Linked DNA regions of Homo sapiens: regions 1 and 3 are each linked to region 2. Evidence: promoter capture Hi-C in human tissues and cell types (Jung and others, 2019). All regions are on one chromosome and are shown on one strand. Each heading gives the region's core, a stretch centred on a gene start or on the middle of the fragment in contact. The rest is flanking DNA. Distances are from core to core; before and after follow the strand shown.

Evidence for each region. Contacts are between HindIII fragments. The study calls those that stand out against the background at their distance.
Region 1: a contact is called between a fragment that was not itself captured here and the fragment with the promoter of TBR1 in region 2, in 1 of the 25 tissues and cell types used here (H1 embryonic stem cells).
Region 3: a fragment that was not itself captured here is called in contact with the fragment with the promoter of TBR1 in region 2 in 1 of the 25 tissues and cell types used here (pancreas).

Annotation. Positions count from the first base shown.
Region 1 is chr2:161,367,608-161,371,587 of GRCh38, forward strand. It overlaps PSMD14 (proteasome 26S subunit, non-ATPase 14), which reads left to right. Exons shown (of 12, transcript NM_005805.6): 5 at 177-296; 6 at 2,500-2,570; 7 at 3,565-3,715. Among named protein-coding and RNA genes, the nearest start is that of TBR1, 47 kb to the right of the region's middle. RefSeq lists an enhancer at 2,697-3,980. The HindIII fragment of the contact is 4,129 bases long and covers 1-3,980 here.
Region 2 is chr2:161,414,882-161,419,258 of GRCh38, forward strand. It overlaps TBR1 (T-box brain transcription factor 1), which reads left to right and starts at 1,416. Exons shown (of 6, transcript NM_006593.4): 1 at 1,416-2,221; 2 at 2,795-2,949; 3 at 3,320-3,441; 4 at 4,011-4,169. The coding sequence starts at 1,530. RefSeq lists a silencer at 71-120 and an enhancer at 1,542-2,164. The HindIII fragment of the contact is 6,943 bases long and covers 1-4,377 here.
Region 3 is chr2:161,458,435-161,462,624 of GRCh38, forward strand. No RefSeq gene overlaps it. Among named protein-coding and RNA genes, the nearest start is that of TBR1, 44 kb to the left of the region's middle. The HindIII fragment of the contact is 4,589 bases long and covers 1-3,563 here.

The sequences.
Region 1 (3,980 bases), core at 719-3,218, 47 kb before region 2:
TACTTTGGAATATTTGTCACCTTAATCCTCTCAGACATAAATAAGCTATTGTTTTAGGTACATTTATAAAAGGAGTTTTTATTTTCACTGGAACAAAATTTGGTTTTTGTTTTATAAAGAAGAACCAGAGACCTCAACGAAATTTGCTTTGTGTCCACATCTCTTCCTTTCTACAGATGTTAAAACATGGCCGTGCTGGAGTTCCAATGGAAGTTATGGGTTTGATGCTTGGAGAATTTGTTGATGATTATACCGTCAGAGTGATTGATGTGTTTGCTATGCCACAGTCAGGAACAGTGAGTACTTTTATGGTTGCCTGCTGCAAGTAAATGTGTTTCTTTTCATTTTTCTTTTCCTATGCAAACTAACTCTCATCATATTACATTTTCTCTTTCCAGTAGGAAAAATTAATCATAAGTTTGATAGAAATTTTTAGATTGTATTGAATTAAATCATTAATCTTTAAAACGCAGCATAACTTCTTATAGGTCTACAAACTGAATGATGCTAATGCTAAATTTCTTTTCTCAGTCCTTCGGCTTAAACTGGTGTAAAATACTGGATTTAAAAGTTACTTACCCTATAATAGCAGAGTGTTAGTTTGATTTTGAACCAAGTGTTCAAAAGATTTGAGATTCTCTTAATTTAGATTTTCAACTCACATATACTGGTTCTTATGTCTTGTTCCCATTGTTTTGAAATATGTCATTTAAAAAATGTTCTATATATGGTGATGAATGACTTTTTAAGCTTTTCTTATTTAAAATGTTAAGTTAAAGCAAAACAAAACAATAGCAAACCTGAATATTTTTTTCCCAGGCATGGTATTTTGTTTATATGCACCGTACTCCATACAAATTACCTGTATAGAATACATTATTCTTTCTAGAGATGTTTGTTTTGTTTTGCCTTTTTGTTTGATGCATTAGACTTGTGTTGATAGATGTGCATTTTGACTGAAAGAAAATAGCCAAAAAACAATAACCATTCCATCTACCTTCCAAAAAAAGCACATATATCCTTCTCACCTGTTTGCTTAGAAAAATATGCATGTATTTTTCCAAGCGATATTTCTTCTTTGCTAGGCAATATTTCTCTTACTGAGCCTTGTAAAAGAAGGATTAAAGAAATTGTTGTTATAAAGCTGTTAGTTCTATTCGAAGTTCTGTAAGTTTACTTTGATAAGGTAGATGCTGGAGAACAAATTACAATTTTAAGTACTGTAATATATATAGTATGTATATTAAAAATAAGCATTTAAAATAGAATATTTGCTACAGAATGCAATATATTTAAAATAATGTAAAGTTTTCTCTAAATAGATGAATTTGTTGAGGTAAACTAATTTGGATCTACTGATTTTATCCATCTTGATATCCATTATATTTATTTTATACATTTGGAAATAGAGAAACACTCTACATGTTAACCAAAGGTTTAGATTTAAATCTTAGACTATTTATTACTTGTATCTGTCTTTTTATATTAGGCTACATGAAACACATAAAACTAACTTATATATGTTATGGGTACTTATGTAGATACCCATTATAATACATTGTTCTTAGGCTTTAATATCATTACTTCCATGTAAATGCTTGTTTGACAATATAAAATAAAAGATTTTGATCCCTATATTCACTCTAATTCTATTTTCTAGTGTCATAGAATTAGAAAGTTTTTCTTCTGACCCCAGAGTCAGTAAACTTTTTCTATAAAGACATATGTCTCTGTTGCATATTCTTCTTCTTTTTTAAGACAGTCCTTTTAAAGTATATATATGAAAAGAAAGAAAAAAACCGAAAACATTCTTAGCCTATAAGCAGCAGATTGCATACCCCTGTTCTTGAGGATGTACTCTCTGTTGGAATTCAATATGCATACTGTTTGTTTTGGTGGGAAGGAAGTGCTTATGTTAACTAGTTTCTTTAAGTACATTAGATTTAGATTCCTGAGGTTAGAAGAAAGCCTTGGGAGCTATAAAGACAGTACTCTATCGCCAGAGAGATGATCTGAACCTTTTAATTCTTCCTGTTCAAATATCTTATTTTGGTTGAACTAGCAAAATAATGCTGTATGTAAGAGACTTGAGGCTGTTTCATTATGATAGCTGAATATTTGTAGAACTTTGGATGAGGCTCATTTTAGTCATCAGTTATGATAGGATGGCATTAGGAAGTATGCTTGCCTAAATAGGTCTAACCAATAGTTATGGTTGGTTCAATTATTTCGTATTTCTGGTAAACATATACACAGCAATGGCCATATACTCTTAAAGAATCCTGAAAGTGGGCTTAACTCGATCGCCAACAGCAGTTTGGTAGTTGGCAATTTTAGAAGCTTGATTGGTATGAGGTTTATAATTGAATGACTTGAGTAGGTATCAAATGTAGGTATCAAAACCTATAAAATGATTTTGGCAACCCCAAATAATATACATAGGGAAGCTTTTTTTCCAAATTTACAAAAATTAATAATTTTTCTTTCTTTCTAAATCAGGGTGTCAGTGTGGAGGCAGTTGATCCAGTGTTCCAAGCTAAAATGTTGGATATGTTGAAGCAGACAGGAAGGTAAGCATTTTAAATGATCAGTTAAAGAAATAATGGGAAATATTTATAGAAACATACCTCAAAGTTATAGATGTTTATCAATGTCATTTCTAGAAAAAGTGGTTATGTAATTGACATAAAAGTATCTGTAAATATCAGTGCCATGCACCACCTGTCTAGTATATCTTCCCTTTAGAACCAGAGAAATTTGCCCATCAGAGAACTGCCTCATGTTAAAATTCTTGACTGTCACATAGTAAGCTTGGGCTGTAGCTTCCCTCTGTTTAGCATATGGAGTTACTGTCTAGTCACTTATAATTGAAAGAGCTTGTATGTTCCATGTATTTGAGAGTTGCAACTGAATGAGATTATGAATATTTAATTATGTTTGTAGGCATAGTTTTAAAGACAGAGAAAGTATAATCCAAATATTCTAAAGTTTTTTCCTCAGACCAAATCTCTCAATAGTTGTCATTCTCTTGCTCAAATTCTTCTGCTGTGGAAACAACTTCAAAATTAATGTTAGCAAAAGGCTCAGCAGCTGAGCAGAACAGTGCAAATTGGTTTTTGACTGAGTTCCTAGTTCTACTGCTGGTTTAATTGATATTTAATCCTTTCACAACAGTGGATCCTGGTGTCCATTGTTAAAAATGTACTCTGTGCCTGGAAAATCCAACTCCCAGAGCTAAGGAGTTAAAGAGTAGATATTTACTTGAATGCTGAAAGGGTAAAAACTGGCTCTGAGAAACTGTGGTAACAAGGTGAAAAACTGAAAGCCTTATCTACCACTGCTAATGTGCATCTCTTAATGATAGCACTCCTTTGTCACACATATTCATTTCCATGTTTTCTGGATAATATGGTGTACAATTTCAGGGTTTCTAATGGTGCTTTTTCACACCTGTGTGTTTTTCATCTCTTCTTAATTTATACCCCGTTAGTGTGTTGTTTCTTTTCATATCATAAATGTATTACTTGTTCTGTTCTGAGCATCTGAATGCCCTCTTTGTTTCAGGCCGGAGATGGTTGTTGGTTGGTATCACAGTCACCCTGGCTTTGGTTGTTGGCTTTCTGGTGTGGATATCAACACTCAGCAGAGCTTTGAAGCCTTGTCGGAGAGAGCTGTGGCAGTGGTTGTGGATCCCATTCAGAGTGTAAAAGGAAAGGTAGAGTAGATTCTATCTTTATTGCCATCTACTGCCACATTCTGTTTACAGATACATTAAATAAAAATCAATTTTGTTCAAAGCAGGATTCTTAATTACACAGAAAGCTGCTGTCTGTTTACTTAAAAAACAAAAAAACTGTACAAGTTGATAACTGTGTCTTGGTATTATTAGCAATTTATTTAGAGATTTCTTCTTTAATCACTTATTGTGTAATTTTCCTGAATATTTATCTTTAAATTTTTTGAATTTCATAAAATTAGGA
Region 2 (4,377 bases), core at 166-2,665:
GTCAGCGAGCGCCGGGCCGCGGGAGGCAGCTTTGGGCAGATAAAAAGCCTCTGCCGCTCTTGGCCCTCTGGCTCAGGCCGAGGGCTGGGCTCCTCTGTAGAGCCGGTGCTGGGAGACTTCCTCCCTACACCTCGGGGTCTCTTCGGGCCTCGTGCTATTTATTTGTGCCAACATCTTTTTAAATTGGTTTTTTTCTATTCCTCTTTAGATTCTTTTTCCTTTTAAAAATTATTGGCATGGATGCTTTTTCTCCCCTCCAGATTATATAAACATTAAACACACACACGTACACACACACACACGTTTTCAGTAGCGATTACTGTGTTGACACCACTTCCACTCTGTCTCCCCAGATCAGCGCTTCTGACGAGCCCATTTGCACGGGGACTCGGCCCTCTCTTTTCCTGGCGAGGCTTTTGAACCTGTCGCCAAGCCAGTACCTCAGAGAGAAGGAAATGCAGAGGGACGAGAAGGATGCATGGCGCCTGCCCCCAGTTAGATGTTCTTCAGATAATCTGCAACCAAGTGCGCTGATAAAATATTTAATAAAGAGCCGGTAAACATCACTGCAAATACATTAAGGCATTTCAGCCCGACAGCTTATGATTATTTCAAAACTTAAAAAGGAGATCATAGATTGTCACTGTTTCTGTACTCAACCAAGAAACCGAACCTTCCTGAGGTGGGTGGATTGGTGGGTGAGTTGCTGCTTTTCGCCCCCTCTCCTCCCCCCTTCTGCTTGTCGCTGTGGCTCTCAGCAGCAGGGATTTATTTATTTATGTTTGCAGTTTAAAAGGTGGGGGTGGGGGCGCCGAGGACATGTAGGATCTGCTCACAAAGCACCAGCTCAGGTGTTGTGTGCTTTTGTATTAGCTGGAAAAGACAGACTCTGGAACTTTTACAGGGCGAGAAGAGGCCACCGGCTCGCGCTTTGTATACTTTGCACTTGAAATCGTTACATTCAACTGAATATTTGGCTCATTCAGATCCGAAAAGTCTCCTAGCATCGTCGAATTCCCTCCTCCGCCCCTCCGCTCTAAAGGGGGGAAGGGGGGGAAGGTAGGAAATGTTTAGTAAATTCCACATCTTTGAATCTTCCTAAAGCAGTGGTCACAGAGCTTAAAGGTGACACAACAGTGCTCACGTAAACCAACACACATTCCCCACCCCCCAAGCCAACAATAAAATCATCCCCTTCAATTTGCCATGATCGTCGCTACCAGGAGCCAGGTGATTATCCTAATTAATGTCTATCTAATTAAATTACTGTCAGCAGCTAACCAATGGCAGGAGCCGTTTCATCGGCTGCACAAGCAGCAAGATCAAAAGTGAGCCTTTTCTGATTGCTGCATAGTGTCAATTGGCCAATCTCTTCTCCCAGGGAAAAAAAAAAGTAAATCAAACCTTTGAGAAGCATTTGCTGGTTGAAGTGCTTTCTGTCTAGTGAGGGGGTCTGTGGATTTCTAGTTTATGATAAATAGGACTTTAAAAACCAGGGACGGGAGGGCGAGTGTTCAGGTTCTAGAGCTATGCAGCTGGAGCACTGCCTTTCTCCTTCTATCATGCTCTCCAAGAAATTTCTCAATGTGAGCAGCAGCTACCCACATTCAGGCGGATCCGAGCTTGTCTTGCACGATCATCCCATTATCTCGACCACTGACAACCTGGAGAGAAGTTCACCTTTGAAAAAAATTACCAGGGGGATGACGAATCAGTCAGATACAGACAATTTTCCTGACTCCAAGGACTCACCAGGGGACGTCCAGAGAAGTAAACTCTCTCCTGTCTTGGACGGGGTCTCTGAGCTTCGTCACAGTTTCGATGGCTCTGCTGCAGATCGCTACCTCCTCTCTCAGTCCAGCCAGCCACAGTCTGCGGCCACTGCTCCCAGTGCCATGTTCCCGTACCCCGGCCAGCACGGACCGGCGCACCCCGCCTTCTCCATCGGCAGCCCTAGCCGCTACATGGCCCACCACCCGGTCATCACCAACGGAGCCTACAACAGCCTCCTGTCCAACTCCTCGCCGCAGGGATACCCCACGGCCGGCTACCCCTACCCACAGCAGTACGGCCACTCCTACCAAGGAGCTCCGTTCTACCAGTTCTCCTCCACCCAGCCGGGGCTGGTGCCCGGCAAAGCACAGGTGTACCTGTGCAACAGGCCCCTTTGGCTGAAATTTCACCGGCACCAAACGGAGATGATCATCACCAAACAGGGAAGGTAATACTACATTTTTGGCTGCCGCTGCTCTAGGCGCAGCCGGGGACAAGTGCACCTAGGCTGTGACTGCCGCGGCAGCGACGATTTGGGGTCGGGAGCGGAGTGGAAGGCGCCCTAGAGTTGGCTAGTTTTGGAAAGGGGGAAAGTGGAAGGGATAACCGCCAGGGTGATGTTGGTGGGGGGGACCCCGTTCTAGGAACATAGTGGGAGAGCCAGTCAGTGGCCAGAGGAAGGCAAGAAAAAGGAAGAGCCCTGGCCAGCGGCTGGGCGATGGGAGGGACGCATCAACACTGGCATGCACGGACAGGTGGAGACGCAGGTCGCCAACCTCGCTCTCCACCTGGGCAGTGATAACTGCCACCTTCCCACTCCAGCTCACCCGCCGCTCTCCCTGATTTGGGTTGCACTTCTTTTCTTCTCCCACCACCCTTTTTCTAATCCAGCAAATATTCGCCTATTTGCTGCAAGTACAAGTTTTGCTTTGCTAACTGGCGCCCCGCTTCTTGCATTTAATCTTTAACATTTATGTTTCTTTTTTCCTTGTTTTCTCCCCCCACCCCTTAATTTAAATAGGCGCATGTTTCCTTTTTTAAGTTTTAACATTTCTGGTCTCGATCCCACGGCTCATTACAATATTTTTGTGGATGTGATTTTGGCGGATCCCAATCACTGGAGGTTTCAAGGAGGCAAATGGGTTCCTTGCGGCAAAGCGGACACCAATGTGCAAGGCAAGTCCTTCCAATTAACACATTTTCTTGACACTTATTTAGGTGAGAATGATTAATTAAAGCCTTTGTGGACTGGCTCGAGCGACTTTTAAAACGATCGGCCAATGACTTCTAAAAGGAAACGAGGGGGACAGGGGGACAGACTGAGCTGCGAGAAGGGGGAGGATTATGCAAAAGCTATTTTAATCACCCCCAGTTAATAGGAAGAAAGAATGGCCTAAAAAAGCCCCAGTTAATGGGCTTCATGGTGGAGTAAGGTGTGTGTATGTGTGTGTGTGTGTGTGTGTGTGTGTGTGTGTGTCCTACGTGGTGAGGAGCTGGGACTGGGCAGTGCCAGGGGCATATGTAAACAATGTATTTCTTTCTCTAGGAAATCGGGTCTATATGCATCCGGATTCCCCCAACACTGGGGCTCACTGGATGCGCCAAGAAATCTCTTTTGGAAAATTAAAACTTACGAACAACAAAGGAGCTTCAAATAACAATGGGCAGGTCAGTGGCTCAAGCGCTCGTGTTTTCTCTCTCTCTCACCCCTTCCTCCCTGACATCCAGTTCGTCAGTGTAAAGCAGCATATGGAACTGGATACACGTTTCTTTGCTTCATTAAAAAGACTTAAAAATTGTATTTCCACCCTCCAAATTTATATTAAATCTGTAAAGTTGTTCTCATTGGCAACACCTCCGTCGGCCCAATTTTGGAGTGCCCGACCTTCCCAAGTACTAATACTGATTGATTTTGAGAAGAAACCCCACAAGATCTGCAGGTTGTGGAAATCTTTGTTCCTCCTTACAGGAGGACTAGGAGAAGGGCCCTGAGGATCGGGCGGTCGGCTTCCCCCTTTTTTCCGGTGCCCCGGCTTATCTTCGCTCCCAGAGGTGCGAAAGCCGGTCTGCCCCAGCCAGCCAGCCGCCAGCCAGGCGAGTCCCGCGGTCAGTTAGCCTGGAAGGCGGGCTGCAGGCTGCCTCCGCCGGCCCGGGCGCGCAGCCGGGCGCACACAGCCACGCGCACAGCGACCGCGTTAACACGCCACCCGGCGCTCCCCTTTCTTCCCGCCGGACAGATGGTGGTTTTACAGTCCTTGCACAAGTACCAGCCCCGCCTGCATGTGGTGGAAGTGAACGAGGACGGCACGGAGGACACTAGCCAGCCCGGCCGCGTGCAGACGTTCACTTTCCCTGAGACTCAGTTCATCGCCGTCACCGCCTACCAGAACACGGATGTAAGGAGACCTAGGGGCTGGGGGCGAGGCGGGCGGCACAGACATCTCTCCCACCCTCTCACATTCTCCCGCCATGCAAGGCTAGGGTACTAGCAGCGCTAACATCAGCAACAGCTGGCTCCGCTGTGCGTTTTAAGGCTTAGGGCTCGGGGCCTGCCCACGGCACCTTTCCTAAATACCAAGCCGGTGGGAAAAAGCTTTCTATTTG
Region 3 (4,190 bases), core at 19-2,518, 43 kb after region 2:
TCTGCAAACAGAGATAATTTGACTTCCTCTCTTCCTAATTGAATATGCTTTATTTCTTTCTCTTGCCTGATTGCTGTGGCTAGAACTTCCAATACTATGTTCAATAGGAGTGCTGAGAGAGGGCATCCTTGTCTTGTGTTAGTTTTCAAAGGGAATGCTTCTAGCTTTTGCCCATTGAGTATGATATTGGCTATGGGTTTGTTATAAAAAGCTCTTATTATTTTGAGATATGTTCCATCAATACCTAGTTTATTGAGTGTTTTTAGCATGAAGGGGTGTTGAATTTTATCAAAGGCTTTTTCTGCATCTATTGATATAATCATGTGGTTTTTGTCATTGGTTCCATTTATGTGATAGATTATGTTTATTGATTTGCATATGTTGCACCAGCCTTATGTCCTAAGGATGAAACTGACTTGATCATGGTGAATAAGATTTTTAATGTGCTGCTGGGTTTGGTTTGCCAATATTTTATTGAGGATTTTCACATCGATGTTCATCAGGGATATTGGCCTGAAATTTTCTTCTTTTGTTGTGTCTCTGCTAGGTTTTGGTATCAGGATGATGCTGGCCTCATAAAATGAGTTAGGGAGGAGTTCCTCTTTTTCTATTGTTTAGAATGGTTTTAGAAGGAATGGTACCAGCTCCTCTGTACCTCTGGTAGAATTTGGCTGTGAGTCCGTCTGGTCCTTGGGCTTTTTTTGGTTGGTAGGCTATTGATTACTGCCTCAATTTTAGAACTTGTTATTGGTCTATTCAGGGATTTGACTTCCTCCTGGTTTAGTCTTGGGAGGGAGTATGTGTCCAGGAATTTATCTATTTCTTCTAAATTTTCTAGTTTATTTGCACAGAGGTGTTTAAAGTATTCTCTGATGGTAGTTTGTTTTTCTGTGGGATCAGTGGTGATGTCCCCTTTATCATTTTTTATTGTGTCTATTTGATTCTTCTCTCTTCTCTTCTTTATTAGTCTGGCTAGTGGTCTATCTATTTTATTAATCTTTTCCAAAAACCACCTCCTGTACTTTTTGAGTTATTGAGGAGTTTTTCATGTCTCTATGTCCTTCAGCTCTGCTCTGATCCTAGTTATTTCTTGTCTTCTGCTAGCTTTTGAATTTGTTTGCTCTTCCTTCTCTTGTTCTTTAATTGTGATGTTAGGGTGTCAATTTTAGATCTTTCCTGCTTTAGAGGGAAATTTGCAATAAATTTCCCTCTAAACACTGCTTTAGTTGTGTCCCAGAGAATCTGGTATGTTGTGTCTTTGTTCTCTTTGGTTTCAAATAACTTATTTATTTCTGCCTTCATTTCATTATTTACCCAGTAGTCATTCAGGTGTTCCGTTTCCATGTAGTTGTGCGGTTTTGAGTGAGTTTCTTAATCCTGAGTTCTAATTTGATTGGACTGTGGTCTGAGAAACTGTTAGTTATGATTTCCACTCTTTTGCATGTGCTGAGGAGTGTTTTACTTCCAATCATGTGGTCAGTTTTAGAATGAGTGCGACGTGGTGCTGAGAAGAATGTATATTCTGTTGATTTGGAGTGGAGAAGTTCTGTAGATGTCTATTAGTTCCACTTGGTCCCACTATTATTGTGTGGGAGTCTAAGTTTCTTTGTAGGTCTCTAAGCACTTACTTTATGAATCTGGGTGCTCCTGTATTGGGTGCATGTATATTTAGGATAGTTAGCTCTTCTTGTTGCATCAATCCCTTTACCATTATGTAATGCCCTTCTTTGTCTTTTTTGATCTTTGTTGGTTTAAAGTCTGTTTTATCAGAGACTAGGATTGCAACCCCTGCTTTATTTTACTTTGATTTGCTTGGTAAATGTTCCTCCATCTCTTTATTTTGAGCCTATATGTGTCTTTTCACATGAGATGGGTCTCCTGAATACAGCACACTGATGGGTCTTGACTCTTTATCCAATTTCTGGTCTGTGTCGTTTAATTGGGGCATTAGCCCATTGACATTTAAGGTTAACATTGTTATCTGTGAATTTGATCCTGTCATTATGATGCTAGCTGGTTTTTTTGCATATTAGTTGATGCAGTTTATTCATAGTGTCAATAGCGTTTACACTTTGGTATGTTTTTGCAGTGGCTGATACCGGTTTTTCCTTTCCATATTTAGTGCTTCCTTCAGGAGCTCTTGTATGGCAGGCCTGGTAGTGACAAAATCTCTCAGCATTTGTTTGTCTGTAAAGGATTTTATTTCTCCTTAACTTATGGAGCTTAGCTTGGCTGGATATGAAATTCTAGGTTGAAAATTCTTTTCTATAAGAATGTTGAATATTGGCCTCCACTCTCTTCTGGCTTGTAGGGTTTCTGCAGATAGATTAGCTCTTAGTCTGATGGGCTTCCCTTTGTGGGTAACCCAACATTTCTCTCTGGCTGCCCTTAACATTTTTTTCCTTCATTTCAACCTTGGTAAATCTGATGATTATGTATCTTGGGGTTGAGCTTCTTGAGGAGTATCTTTGTGGTGTTCTCTATATTTCCTGAATTTGAATGTTGGCCTGTCTTGCTAGGTTCGGGAAGTTCTCCTGGATAATACCCTGAAGTGTGTTTTCCAACTTGATTCCATTCTCCCCATCACTTTCAGGTGCACCAATCAAACGTAGGTTTGGTCTTTTCACATAGTCCCATATTTCTTGGAGGCTTTGTTCATTCCTTTTCATTCTGTTTTCTCTAATCTTGTCTTTGTGCTTTATTTCATTAAGCTGATCTTCAGTCTCTGATAACTTTTCTTCCAATTGATTGATTCAGCTGTTGATACTTTTGTATGCTTCACAAAGTTCTCGTGCTGTGTTTTTCAGCTTCATCACATCAGTTATGTTCTTCTCTAAATTGGTTATTCTAGTTAGCAGTTCCTGTAACCTTTTATCACGGTTCTTGGCTTCTTTGCATTGGGTTAGAACATGCTCCTTTAGCTTGGAGGAGTTTGCTATTACTTACCTTTTGTAGCCTACTTCTGTCAATTCGTCAAACTCATTCTCTGTCCAGTTTTGTTCCCTTGCTGGCAAGGAGTTGTGATCCTTTGTAGAAGAGGCATTCTAGTTTTTGCAATTTTCAGCCTTTTTGCATGGGTTTTTCCTCATCTTCGTGGATTTATCTACCTTTAGTCTTTGATGTTGATGGCCTTCTGATAGGGTTTTTGCGTGGTTGTCCTTTTTGTTAATATTGATGCTATTGCTTTCTGTTTGTTAGTTTTCCTTGTAATGGTCAGGCCCCTCTTCTGCAGGTCTGCTGGAGTTTGCTGGAGGTGCACTCCAGATGCTGTTTGCCTGGATATCACCAGTAGAGGCTGCAGAACAGCAAAGATAGCTGCCTGCTACTTCTTCTGGAAGCTTTGTCCCAGAGGGGTACCCACCAGATGCCAGCCCAAGCTCTCCTGTATGAGGTGTCTGTTGACCCCTGCTGGGAGGTGTCTCCCAGTCAGGAGGCATGGGTTTCAGGGACCCACTTGAGGAGGCAGTCTGTCCCTTAGCAGAGCTTGAGCACTGTGATGGGAGATCCACTGCTCTCTTCAGAGTTGGCAGGCAAGAACGTTTAAGTCTGCTGAAGCTGCTCCCATAGCTACTCCTTCCCCCAGGTGCTCTGTCTCAGGGAGACGGGAGTTTTATCTATAAGTCCCTGACTGGGGCTGATGCCTTTCTCTCAGAGATGCCCTGCCCATAGAGGAGGAATCTGGAGAGGCAGTCTGGCTAGTGCGGCTTCAAGGTGCTGCAGTGGGCTCAGCCCAGTCCGAACTTCCCTGCAGCTTTGTTTACACTGTGAGGGGAAAACCACCTACTTAAGCTTCAGTGATGATGGATGCCTCTCCCTCCACCTAGCTCAAGCGTCCCAGGTTGACTTTAGACTGCTGTGCTGGCAGCCAGAATTTCAAGCTAGTGGAGCTTAGCTTGCCAGGCTTCTTGGGGGTGGGATCTGCTGAGCAAGACCACTTGGCTCCCTGGCTTCAGCCCCCTTACCAAGGGAGTGAAAAGTTCTGTCTTGCTGGCGTTCCAGGCACCACTGGGGTAGGAAAAAAACCTGCAGCTAGCTCGGTGTCTGCCCAAACGGCCGCCCAGTTTTGTGCTTGAAACACAGGGTCCTGGTGGTGTAGGCACTCGAGGGAATCTCTTGGTCTGTGGGTTGCGAAGACCATGGGAAAAGTGTAGTATCTAGGCTGGATAGCGCCATCCCTCATGGCACAATCC